3 separate regions of the Homo sapiens genome follow, and regions 1 and 2 are each linked to region 3. The links are contacts of gene promoters, found by promoter capture Hi-C in human tissues and cell types (Jung and others, 2019). All regions are on one chromosome and are shown on one strand. The core of a region is centred on a gene start or on the middle of the fragment in contact, and the rest is flanking DNA. Distances in the headings are between cores, read along the strand shown.

The links. Contacts are between HindIII fragments. The study calls those that stand out against the background at their distance.
Region 1: a contact is called between a fragment that was not itself captured here and the fragment with the promoter of LLPH in region 3, in 1 of the 25 tissues and cell types used here (bladder).
Region 2: a contact is called between a fragment that was not itself captured here and the fragment with the promoter of LLPH in region 3, in 1 of the 25 tissues and cell types used here (psoas muscle).

Annotation. Positions count from the first base shown.
Region 1 is chr12:64,827,639-64,831,111 of GRCh38, reverse strand. TBC1D30 (TBC1 domain family member 30) reads right to left here. Exons shown (of 12, transcript NM_015279.2): 2 at 3,216-3,277; 3 at 2,603-2,668; 4 at 610-735. Among named protein-coding and RNA genes, the nearest start is that of TBC1D30, 4.7 kb to the right of the region's middle. The HindIII fragment of the contact is 5,206 bases long and covers 1-3,473 here.
Region 2 is chr12:64,641,438-64,644,728 of GRCh38, reverse strand. All of the region lies in intron 1 of RASSF3 (Ras association domain family member 3), which reads right to left. Among named protein-coding and RNA genes, the nearest start is that of MIR548Z, 20 kb to the right of the region's middle. RefSeq lists an enhancer at 2,783-3,286. The HindIII fragment of the contact is 4,634 bases long and covers 1-3,291 here.
Region 3 is chr12:66,128,985-66,132,231 of GRCh38, reverse strand. It overlaps LLPH (LLP homolog, long-term synaptic facilitation factor), which reads left to right and starts at 1,482. Exons shown (of 3, transcript NM_032338.4): 1 at 1,482-1,527; 2 at 3,119-3,247. The coding sequence starts at 3,126. LLPH-DT (LLPH divergent transcript) reads right to left here and starts at 1,481. Exons shown (of 2, transcript NR_125724.1): 1 at 1,257-1,481. RefSeq lists enhancers at 1,459-1,568, 1,609-1,758. The HindIII fragment of the contact is 6,410 bases long and covers 1-3,247 here.

The sequences.
Region 1 (3,473 bases), core at 783-3,282, 1.3 Mb after region 3:
CTCATATAAAATCAAAAACCATGTGCTAGAGCCTTATGTAAGAGGATAATACTGGGATCAAACAGAATCAGTATCCTTGGCTTTTAGCACCAGGCTCTGTTCAACTGTAATAATCCAGGTAAGCGAGCCACAACTGCCTACACAGCTGGCTTGAACCCACAAGTATTTGGTTGGAAGTAGGCCCCACCTGTGAACCTGTCTTTAGAAATTGGCAGTTAAGAAACTATCAAAGACCCTAATAAGAACCAAATCATTCTCATATGAAATATACTTAACTAACTTTTTCAATCAGTGACTTTTATATAAAAATCCAGTTGGCATCATTGACCCATGACAAAGCGTCCTTCCTATAGTGTGAGGAAGATTAATAAGTTGAATGTGAATGAAAGCTCATTTGCAAATATTTTCTTCTTACCGGTAACATTTAAATTTATGCAGACAACACATTGTCAAGGTTCCCCATGAAAAAGCTAATGAAATGAGAAGGCAGAAAATATACAGACATTCAAACCAGAAGGTAGAGATCATTTGATCCTCTGTCCAAAAAGCAACTGGCTTTTAGAGTCTTTCTTCTATATTAGGATGACAGGCCAAGTTCAGGGGCATTACCTTGACTATCTGAATTCCCATGGAGTCATCATCAGGATTACTCCTTTCATTGAAAGTGAAGCGCATGGTTTTGTCCCAGTCAATGGCTATACTGTGCAAATAATGATCTGCCAAGGTCAACCAAACCTAAAATATTACATAGACAAAGGAGAATGCCAAAGTAGAATATATAACTTCACCTTTATTAGAAAGTAGTTATTGCATTCGACAAGAAAATGGGAAGTGTCCCTAGACCAGCTATCTATCGCTCATAAGTAGAAATCTACAAGAGTCTCACTGAAATGTTTGTTGCACTGATTTGCACCATTTAGGGCCTTTCATTTACTCTTTCAATAAATATTTGTTGAGTTCCCACTATGTGTCAAGCAGCAATCCAGGCATTAGGGATACTGTTAGAAAGACAAACCAAGAAGATTTTCAAATTGTATTTCTGTTCATTGAATAACCTGTATAATCTCATAAGCTTGTTTTACTTGGCTCTGTATTGCTCTCCATACTTAGGCAAGAGCCATCTGGTCACTCATGGTGAATGGGGCTTTTTTTCACCATGGAGTGGCCTCTGCCTTTAAACCATCCCTCTCACACACATACACAAAACTGACAGATGGGCTCCCATAATGAGTAAGTTTTTTAAAAGAGCCACTGGATATTTTTACCCTTTGATTATCTTATCCAGAAAATCTGTTTCTGAAAGTTATATTTCATAATGTCATTTTCATGACTATTTTGAGGAACCCTCAATTTTCAAATTCTAGAAATATAAAGATTAGGCTTATAAATTAATATCCTAAGTGTGTATTTCAAGTTTTGGTATTTAAACATGATTTAGCAGAAATAAACATTGATTTATATATCCAGCCAGACTTCTCTCCTAACCTCAGAAGCATATATCCAAATGCTCACTTGATACCTTCAAATTAGATATCTAATAGGCATGTCAACCTTAACAGATCCAAAACCAATCACTTATTCCACCACCTACCCTACCTACACGTACAGACACACACACACCTCACCTACTCCTCCCATCTGAGTAAACAGTAATTCTACCTCCCAATCACTCAGGCCAAAATCCTGAAGTCATCTTTGACATCCCTTTTATACCTTATATTCAGTCCAAGAGGAATTCATGTAAGCTCAGCCTTCAAAATACGTCTAGGATTTCCATCTCCACTACCACAACCCTGATGCATCTGTTGCCTGAGCTACTGCAAGTCTCCTACTGGTCTCCCTACTTCAGCCCTTGTCTCTCATATTCTCAAGTCAGTACCCAGAGTAGCCCGTTCATAATAAAAGTCAGATCATGTCACTCCCCTGCTCAAAACTTCCCAGTGCTTCCTAGCTCACACTGAGCAAAAGCCCAAGACCTATGATAGCCCACCAGGTTCTCCACGATCTGCCACCCCTCAACCCACCACATTACCTCTATGACCCCCTCACCTATTGCTTCCCCCTTTGTTCACTGTGCCCCAGCCCCGCCCCACCCCATCTTTGCTTGAATACAACCCAGATGCAAGATGCTCCCGCCTGAGGGCTGAGGGTGCTTGCGCTGGCTGTTCCCTCTGCCTGGAGTATCTCCTCCCAGGTACTTGCATGGCTGGCTTCTCACCTCCTTCAGGGGCCTACTCGAATGTCACCTTGCTATTTAAAATTCCACCTCCTTACCCCTTTTCTCCTAAACGCTCTTTATTTCTCTCTACACTTTATTTTTATCCATGGCACTTATTACCATCTGACATACTTTATATTTTATTCATTGTAAGCTCCATGAGGACAAAAAACTTTGGTCTGTTTTGTTTTTTTCCATTGCTATATCCCTAGAACCTAGAACATTACTTGGCACAGAATAATCAATAAATATTTATTGCATGAATGAATAATCAAGACAGGTTTTCAAGTAACTAAACCTAGAATATATTTTTTGACATTCCAGAGGCTCTAAAGAAGGGCAGTGATGATCCTTCTGTATTCTAGCCCTATGAGTCCTCCTTACCTTTCTCCTCCATTCCTTTGGTATTCCTGTGGATAGCCTGGCAACTGCCTTGAGAGCATCGTACCACTAGGAACAAAGAAGAAATCCCAGGAGGTGATCACAGTGACCTAGATAAGCACTTTGCAATCTTTTTCCCATCTTGACATTCATAGAATGTGCTGAAATTTGCACAGCACAATGGGGTAAACAGTCAAAGCTTCTTTCAGACAGAAGTGATCAGTCCATGGCTATTACTGTGCCACGTCCCACCCCTTGGGCACCCTTAACACATCTGTGACCCCTTTGCAGTACAAACAAAATGGTTGGGAAGCTCTGGTTAATAAGCCAAAATATATATTATGGGGTTCAGAATAAAAGACATTATGGTACAGGTGTGAAATTTATTCATTTTAAAATTTTTCACACATGTACCATTAATAGAAAGTGCAAAATTTGTCACTGCAAATATAAACCCAGGCCACTTGTAGCTCAAAAGCTACTTTAACTGAAATATTGTTGAAGTGACTCATCTTCACATTCATATCAAAGAATACGTTATTTCCACTTTGAGAATATATCTCAATGTGCCCTGTTGGTAACCCCAAAAGAAGAGTGTTTTCAAAATCAAAGTTACCTGCTGAAAACCATTTTGACCTAAAGATGGCTCAAGAGTGAATTTCAACTTGGTATCAACTCCTGAAAGAAAAATACATAAATAGATGTTATTTTTGGAGACTATAACAAGTTATATCAAAAATACTAGTAAAAGCTTGATTCTACTGAATCATCACAATTTTTTTTAAAGTATGTATCTTTACTAAATTTTAGTCAATTTTGCCAAAAGGTAAGCATATTGATTCTTAAAATAGGAAAATACCCTACAGCAATAGAA
Region 2 (3,291 bases), core at 596-3,095, 1.5 Mb after region 3:
TATATATATTTTTGTTTGTTTGTTTGTTTTTGGTTGGAGACAGGGTCTCTGCTGCCCAGGCTGGAGTGTAGTGATGCAAACACAGCTCACTGCAGCCTCAACCTCCTGGGCTCAGGTGATCTTCCCACCTTAGCCTCCCGGGTAGCTGGAACTACAGGCATGTGCAACCACGCCCAGCTAATTTTTGTATTTTTTTGCGGAGATGGGGTTTCTCCATGTTGCCCAGGCTGGTCTCCAACTCCTGGGCTTAAGTGATCTGCCCATCTCGGCCTCCTAAAGTTCTGGGATTATAGACATGAGCCACCTTGCCTGGACAGAAAACATATTGATATGTAAACAGATACTATTAAGAAGACTACAAATTTGCCTAAGATAATACAGGACACTCCAGAGAAACCTCTGCTGCTCAATTCAAGCTACGCTCTAGGCCATCACTCTTCCTGAGCTCCTCAGGTACTCTTTCCCTCTCTATATATTTCAGGAACAGTTTTGACAGGTTAGGCATAGGATATTTAGAATATTTCTGGTTCTCTACCTTAAACAACTCTAATCAATGTGCTTCAGGTTTTTTAATGCAATTTAAACTGATGACAAAGTTTAAGCTATTTCCTCAAATTATAAATACCACTCCATCTGGCTTACTATCCCTGCAGAGCAAAATATTTATTTTCAGCAATGTTGACATGCAAAAGCAAAAGAACAGGAAACTGTGTTTAAGAAAAACAAAATACCACAATAAGATTAACAAACTACATACAAGTTTACACTTACCTTTAGGAAGTTGTCTTTGTATGAAAAGTATATTTTCGATTCAATTGCATACACACAACAATGAAGCTTTACTTTGTTAAAATAATTAGTCAATCACTGGGAAACAAATGAAACTCTGAGATAAAGTGAAAAAACAAATTGCCCTTTTTAGAATTAACCTGCCAGTAATCTCTAGGTGCTTTTACCCAAAGACCCCAGTCTAAAATTCACATGCAAAACATTTTTTTCAGTTATAAAACAGAAGAGTTGTAGGACAGAAAAAACACAGAAGCCAAAAGAGATTGTCCTATCACCCAGAGTAGATCATTCCGGTTTTTTTTTCCTATTCTTATATTTAATGATACATTATACATGCTGTTTTGTTGGGGTTTTTGGTTTATTTTTGTTTTGGGGTTTTATTTTTTTTTTAAGAGACGGGGTCTCACTAGGTTGCCCAGGCTGGAATGCAGTGGCTATTCACAAGAACAATCATCCCATACTACAGCCCCAAACTCCTTCCTCGGCTCAAGCGGTCGTTCTGCCTTAGTCTCCCATGCAGCTGGACTACAGGTGCTTGCCACCTCACCGGCTTCTATACATGCTGTTTTAAAATTCTTTTCCATTTGAAAAATGTTGTGAGTATCTGTGCATCTAACACTTTAACAGTAACAATAGCTAAATCTTTATGGAGCTTTACTATGGACCAGACATGTTCTAAGCATTTTACAAGGTATTAATAACTTCTTTCATACTCAAATAATCCAAGGACAGCTGTTAAGCTACAATTAACAATTGCATTAAGAAACTTGCCCGGGCCAGGCGTGATGGCTCACACCGGTGATCCCAGCACTTTGGGAGGGTGAGGCGGGTGGGGAGGGGCGGAATCACCTGAGCTCAGGAGTTCAAGACCACCCTGGGCAACATGGTGAAGCCCTGTCTCTACTAAAATACATTAGCCAGGTGTGGTGCCATGTGCCTGTAGTCCCAGCTGAGGCTGAGGCACGAGAATCACTTGAACCCCAGAGGCGGAGGTTGCAGTGAGCTGAGATCGTACCACTGCATTCCAGCTTGGGCAACAGAGTGAGACTCCATCTCAAGAAAAAAAAAAAAAAAGAAAGAAAGAAACTTGCCCAAAGTCATAAAGTTCTAAGTGGCAGCACAACTATCAGAATTCACTTAGTCTGAATCCAGAAGCTATACTTTTAAACCACTGCACTCTACAAATAATTTTAAATAATTGAATATCTACTGTTTCCAAACTTCTCACTATTACAAAGTTTTGTATTACAAAACTTTGTATTAATTACAAAACTTTGTATTAATTTGTATTAATTAACTTTGTATTAATTAATTACAAAACTTTGTATTAATTACAAAGTTTTGATGAATCTTTTTTTTTTTTTTTTTTTTTTTTTTTTTGAGATGGAGTCTCGTTCTGTCGCCCAGGCTGGAGTGCAGTGGCATGATCTTGGCTTACTGCAACCTCTGCTTCCAGGATTCAAGCGATTCTCCTGCCTCAGCCTCCTGAGTAGCTGAGACTACAGGCACCCGCCACCATGCCCAGCTAATTTTTGTATTTTTAGTAGAGACAGGGTTTCACCATTTTGGCCAGGCTTGTCTTGAACTCCTGACCTTAGGTGATCTGCCTGCCTCGGCCTCCCAAAGTGCTGGGATTACAGGCATGAGAAACCGGGCCCGGCCCTTGATGAACCTTCTCATAAGAAATATTTTCATATATCCTTGACTTTTTTCCTTAAGATAGTTTTTTAGAAGTACAATTGCTAAGCCAGAAGATAAAGCAAACAATTTAAATAACCAGGTGAGCTGTCAACCAGAACATTTTAATCAGCCCATAAGGAAACTTAATGCAGTAGAAAAGATAATTTGCAACAAATAATTATAATTAGATGGCTCCATATATAGAAATCAGAATCACAGGCCGAGCACGGTGGCTCACGCCTGTAATCTCAGCACTTTGGGAGGCCAAGATAGGCGGATCACCTGAGGTCGGGAGTTCGAGACCAGCCTGACCAACATGGAGAAACCCCGTCTCTACTAAAGATACAAAATTAGCCGGGCGTGGTGGCACATGCCTGTTATCCCAGCTACTCGGGAGGCTGAGGCAGAAGAATCGCTTGAACCCGGGAGGCAGAGGTTGCAGTGAGCCGAGATCACACTACTGCACTCTAGCCTGGGCAACAAGGGCGAAACTCCATCCAAAAAAAAAAAATCACTAGGTACTTTAAAGTCACAAGGGAGGTGCTAAATAGCTAAAGAAATGCTGATATTCAACCGCTTAAATGCCCCCTAGGAGTCAGTAACTTAAAAAAAAAAAAAAAAAGAGAGAGAGAGATGGGGTCTCACCATATTGCCTGGCTGGTCTCAAACTCCTGAGCTCAAGTAATCCTCCTGGCCTTGGCCTCCCAAAGTGCTGGGATTACAGGCATGAGCCACCACCCCCAGCTGGAGTCAGTTACTTTCTCAAAACCAGGCTTGACAACTGTACAGGTCTAGTCCCCCACGTCCATAGGGTTTCTCATT
Region 3 (3,247 bases), core at 233-2,732:
TAAATCATGGCATGGTATTTTAACAACATGACATTTTCATAATAGGTAAATTATTTTTTCTGGTGCCAAGTGCCTATTCAAAAGTCTTGTCCTGGTATGTTAAACAAGATACAGTAAATATGGACTATCAGAATATAAGTTTTCTCTAAAATGCAATGTGCACTTATATTTTTGGGTGAGGTAGCTAACTTCTCATTTGAAAGATGAGGTACAGTATATGGTTAACTTGTAAAACAGAAATTCACTTGCTTTATAAGAACGAAATCTCATTTAAATAAACCAGGTTTCTTAGGCATGCTTCCTTTTTTTATATCAAATGTTCTAGGTTTTTTTCAGCCTCTTTAACCTTGCTATATTCTGAATTCAGTAATTTCCATACTATGCATGGTTTCATAAAGGACACAAATTTAAAGAAAAAAGGTACCCATAGATTGCCTCAGAACCCCTTTTTCTGGCAACCAGCAGGAGTTTACCAGGCCATCATTAAAGACATGTTTTTTGGGTATATGTCGTAAATCTCTAGAAACATTGCTTACAAATAGTACTGTGTAGCTATACTTTTGAAACTATAATGTAAAAAGGGTACCATTTGTTGAACTCTTACAGCATCAATTAGGTTGTATTATGTTCACTTTAGGGACAAGGAAATTCAGGCCCTTATGACATTAATTACTCACCCATATCGTTCACAAGTGTTGGAAGCAAGAGTACAACACAGACCTATATGGTTCCAAAGCCTATGCCAGTAGAAATAGTTGTACAGTAAGTGTTATTCGTGAGCTAAGACAATCGTCCTAGGCTTAGCATTGTGTCTGATACGTAAGTGATCAGACAGGTAAACATTGATAGAACTGAAATCCTTTGATCATTTTACCCTTTAAATTCTTCTCTGGGGTAGGAAAAGCTTGTTTTCTGTTTTTGGTAACCGCTTTGAGTATAACTGACATGCAATAAGTTGCACATATTTAAAGTGTGCAGTTTGATACGGTTTTACATATGTGTACATCTGTGAGGCCATCACCCGAGATGAGAAAATGCACAGGCTGCAAATAAAAATGATCTCAATACGGCCTCTGGAAGAACACCTGATCTAGGCTGACTTGATCTAAGGAAATACATGAGTATCATGTAAACGCTGAGGTCAGATCTAAAGGTCGGCTCGGAGCTCCCTATCTGACAAGTAGGGTCCCCTGGCCAGGTTCACTCCATAGGTTAGTCTCGGGGCTACCCTGCCCACGTCCGGAAAGCGGACCTACCTGGGGCCTAACCTTGACCGGACACCCGTCAGCATTCTCCAAATCCGACTTCTACACCTGTATGGGACGGACCAAGTTTCTAGGTCCGCGATCACACCAATGGCGGAAGCTCGTCAGCGCCCGGGTTCCAAAATCCCGCCTCTCAAGGCTTCTTGAGACATTTTGTCTCCCGGCGTGCAATGCGTCCGCCCCGGGTGGCCTCCGCCCGGAAGACGGAAGTGCAAAGACTTCCGGTCGGCGTGAGCGTGAGGTGTGGGTGTTCGTTTCTCAGGTGAGTTCGGTTCCTCACCGGTCCAGTGACACATGGGACTTGGGGCTTGATTCCGCCACCCTTGGAGAATTTCGTTTCTTGACACTCGCTGGGCTATACTTGAGCTCCAGTCCGGAGATGCAGGCCTTGTTGAGGGCGAGGGTTCCCCTTGCTCTTTTTGGTGGGGGCCCTCCGGCTTCCGAGTGCACTGGATAAAGTGGAGCCCACCCCTGTCGTTCACTCCCGCTGAAGTTAACTTCGGCCCTCAAGGTTGTTTGCCGCCCGCTTTCCTAGCCCCTCGCAAGGGTTGAGTTATGTAGACAAGGGAGCGGAATGACTGTGATTGCCGGCGTTCAAAAAATGTTAGTGGTTCGTTCAACAAGTATGCAAAAAGTGTGCGATTCAGCAGTGAACAAGACCTTTCCCTCTACCTTCGTGGAGTCTACAGTCTGGGGAGAGGGTCGGGGGGCGTGACAGAAAACAATGGTTTCAGGTTGTAACACTTAATAAGCAGGGAAGGGAGCTTACGGAGGTCAGAGGAGTCCTTTCTGAGGTAGCGAATGAAGGAGCAAGCCTTGAGAAGAGCAGTTGCCAGGCATAGGGACAGCAAATATGAAGGCACTGACGTAGAGATAGTTTGGACTCTTTACAGACGTAGTTGGTGCCTGCGGGGATGGGGATGGAGAATGAAATGAAATAGAGTTGAAGGAGGCAGGGGACAGATCACAAATGACCTTGTAGATCTTGAATATATATGAGGGAGGAGGTCTTTAAAGAACTCGAAGAAAGGCAGTGAATGCTTTTTTAAAAGATCACACTGAGCACCTTGTGGAGGATTTAGGGCGGAACTGAGTGGAAAGAAAACAAGAGTAGGAATAGATAAGTTTACAGTCGTTAAGTTGGCTTGAGAGGATGGATAATGAAGATGAGGTGAAGTGTTTATAAAAATCATTTGTAATTTGTAAGCTGTTGCATAAATGTAAGGTGATGACGCTGTTGCATTCTGGGGAAATTAAATTTCTGTATTTTGTAAAGAAATTCAGCCGGGCGCGGTGGCTCAAGCCTGTAATCCCAGCACTTTGGGAGGCCGAGGCGGGCGGATCACAATGTCAGGAGATCGAGACTATCCTGGCTAACACGGTGAAAACCCGTCTCTACTAAAAATACAAAAAATTAGCCAGGCGTGGTGGCGGGCGCCTGTAGTCCCAGCTGCTCGGGAGGCTGAGGCAGGAGAATGGCGTGAACCTGAGAGGTGGAGGTTGCAGTGAGCTGAGATCGCGCCACTGCACTCCAGCCTGGGACACAGAACAAGACTCTGTCTCAAAAAAAAAAAAAGAAAAAAGACATGCAAGGTGCTTTCAGAATTGGTTTGATTTGTAGTTTGCTTATGACCACAAGTTTGATTTGATATCTTGTTATTTAGTGACTGTGTATGTACCATGTTGATCTTCATATAAGTTGCATGTTAAGTCCTAAAAAGTGAACAGATTGAAGAGTTTTACTTTTCACTTGTTTTGTAGAGATACCTGTTGGCCTGGTTTTCTAAGGATTTGCCTGTTTTCTTTTTTATATTAAAGATTTGCTTTTGAATGTGTGTTTTTGTTAACTTCAGGTAAAACATGGCTAAAAGCTTACGGAGTAAGTGGAAAAGAAAGATGCGTGCTGAAAAGAGAAAAAAGAATGCCCCAAAGGAGGCCAGCAGGCTTAAAAGTATTCTCAAACTAGACGGTGATGTTTTAAT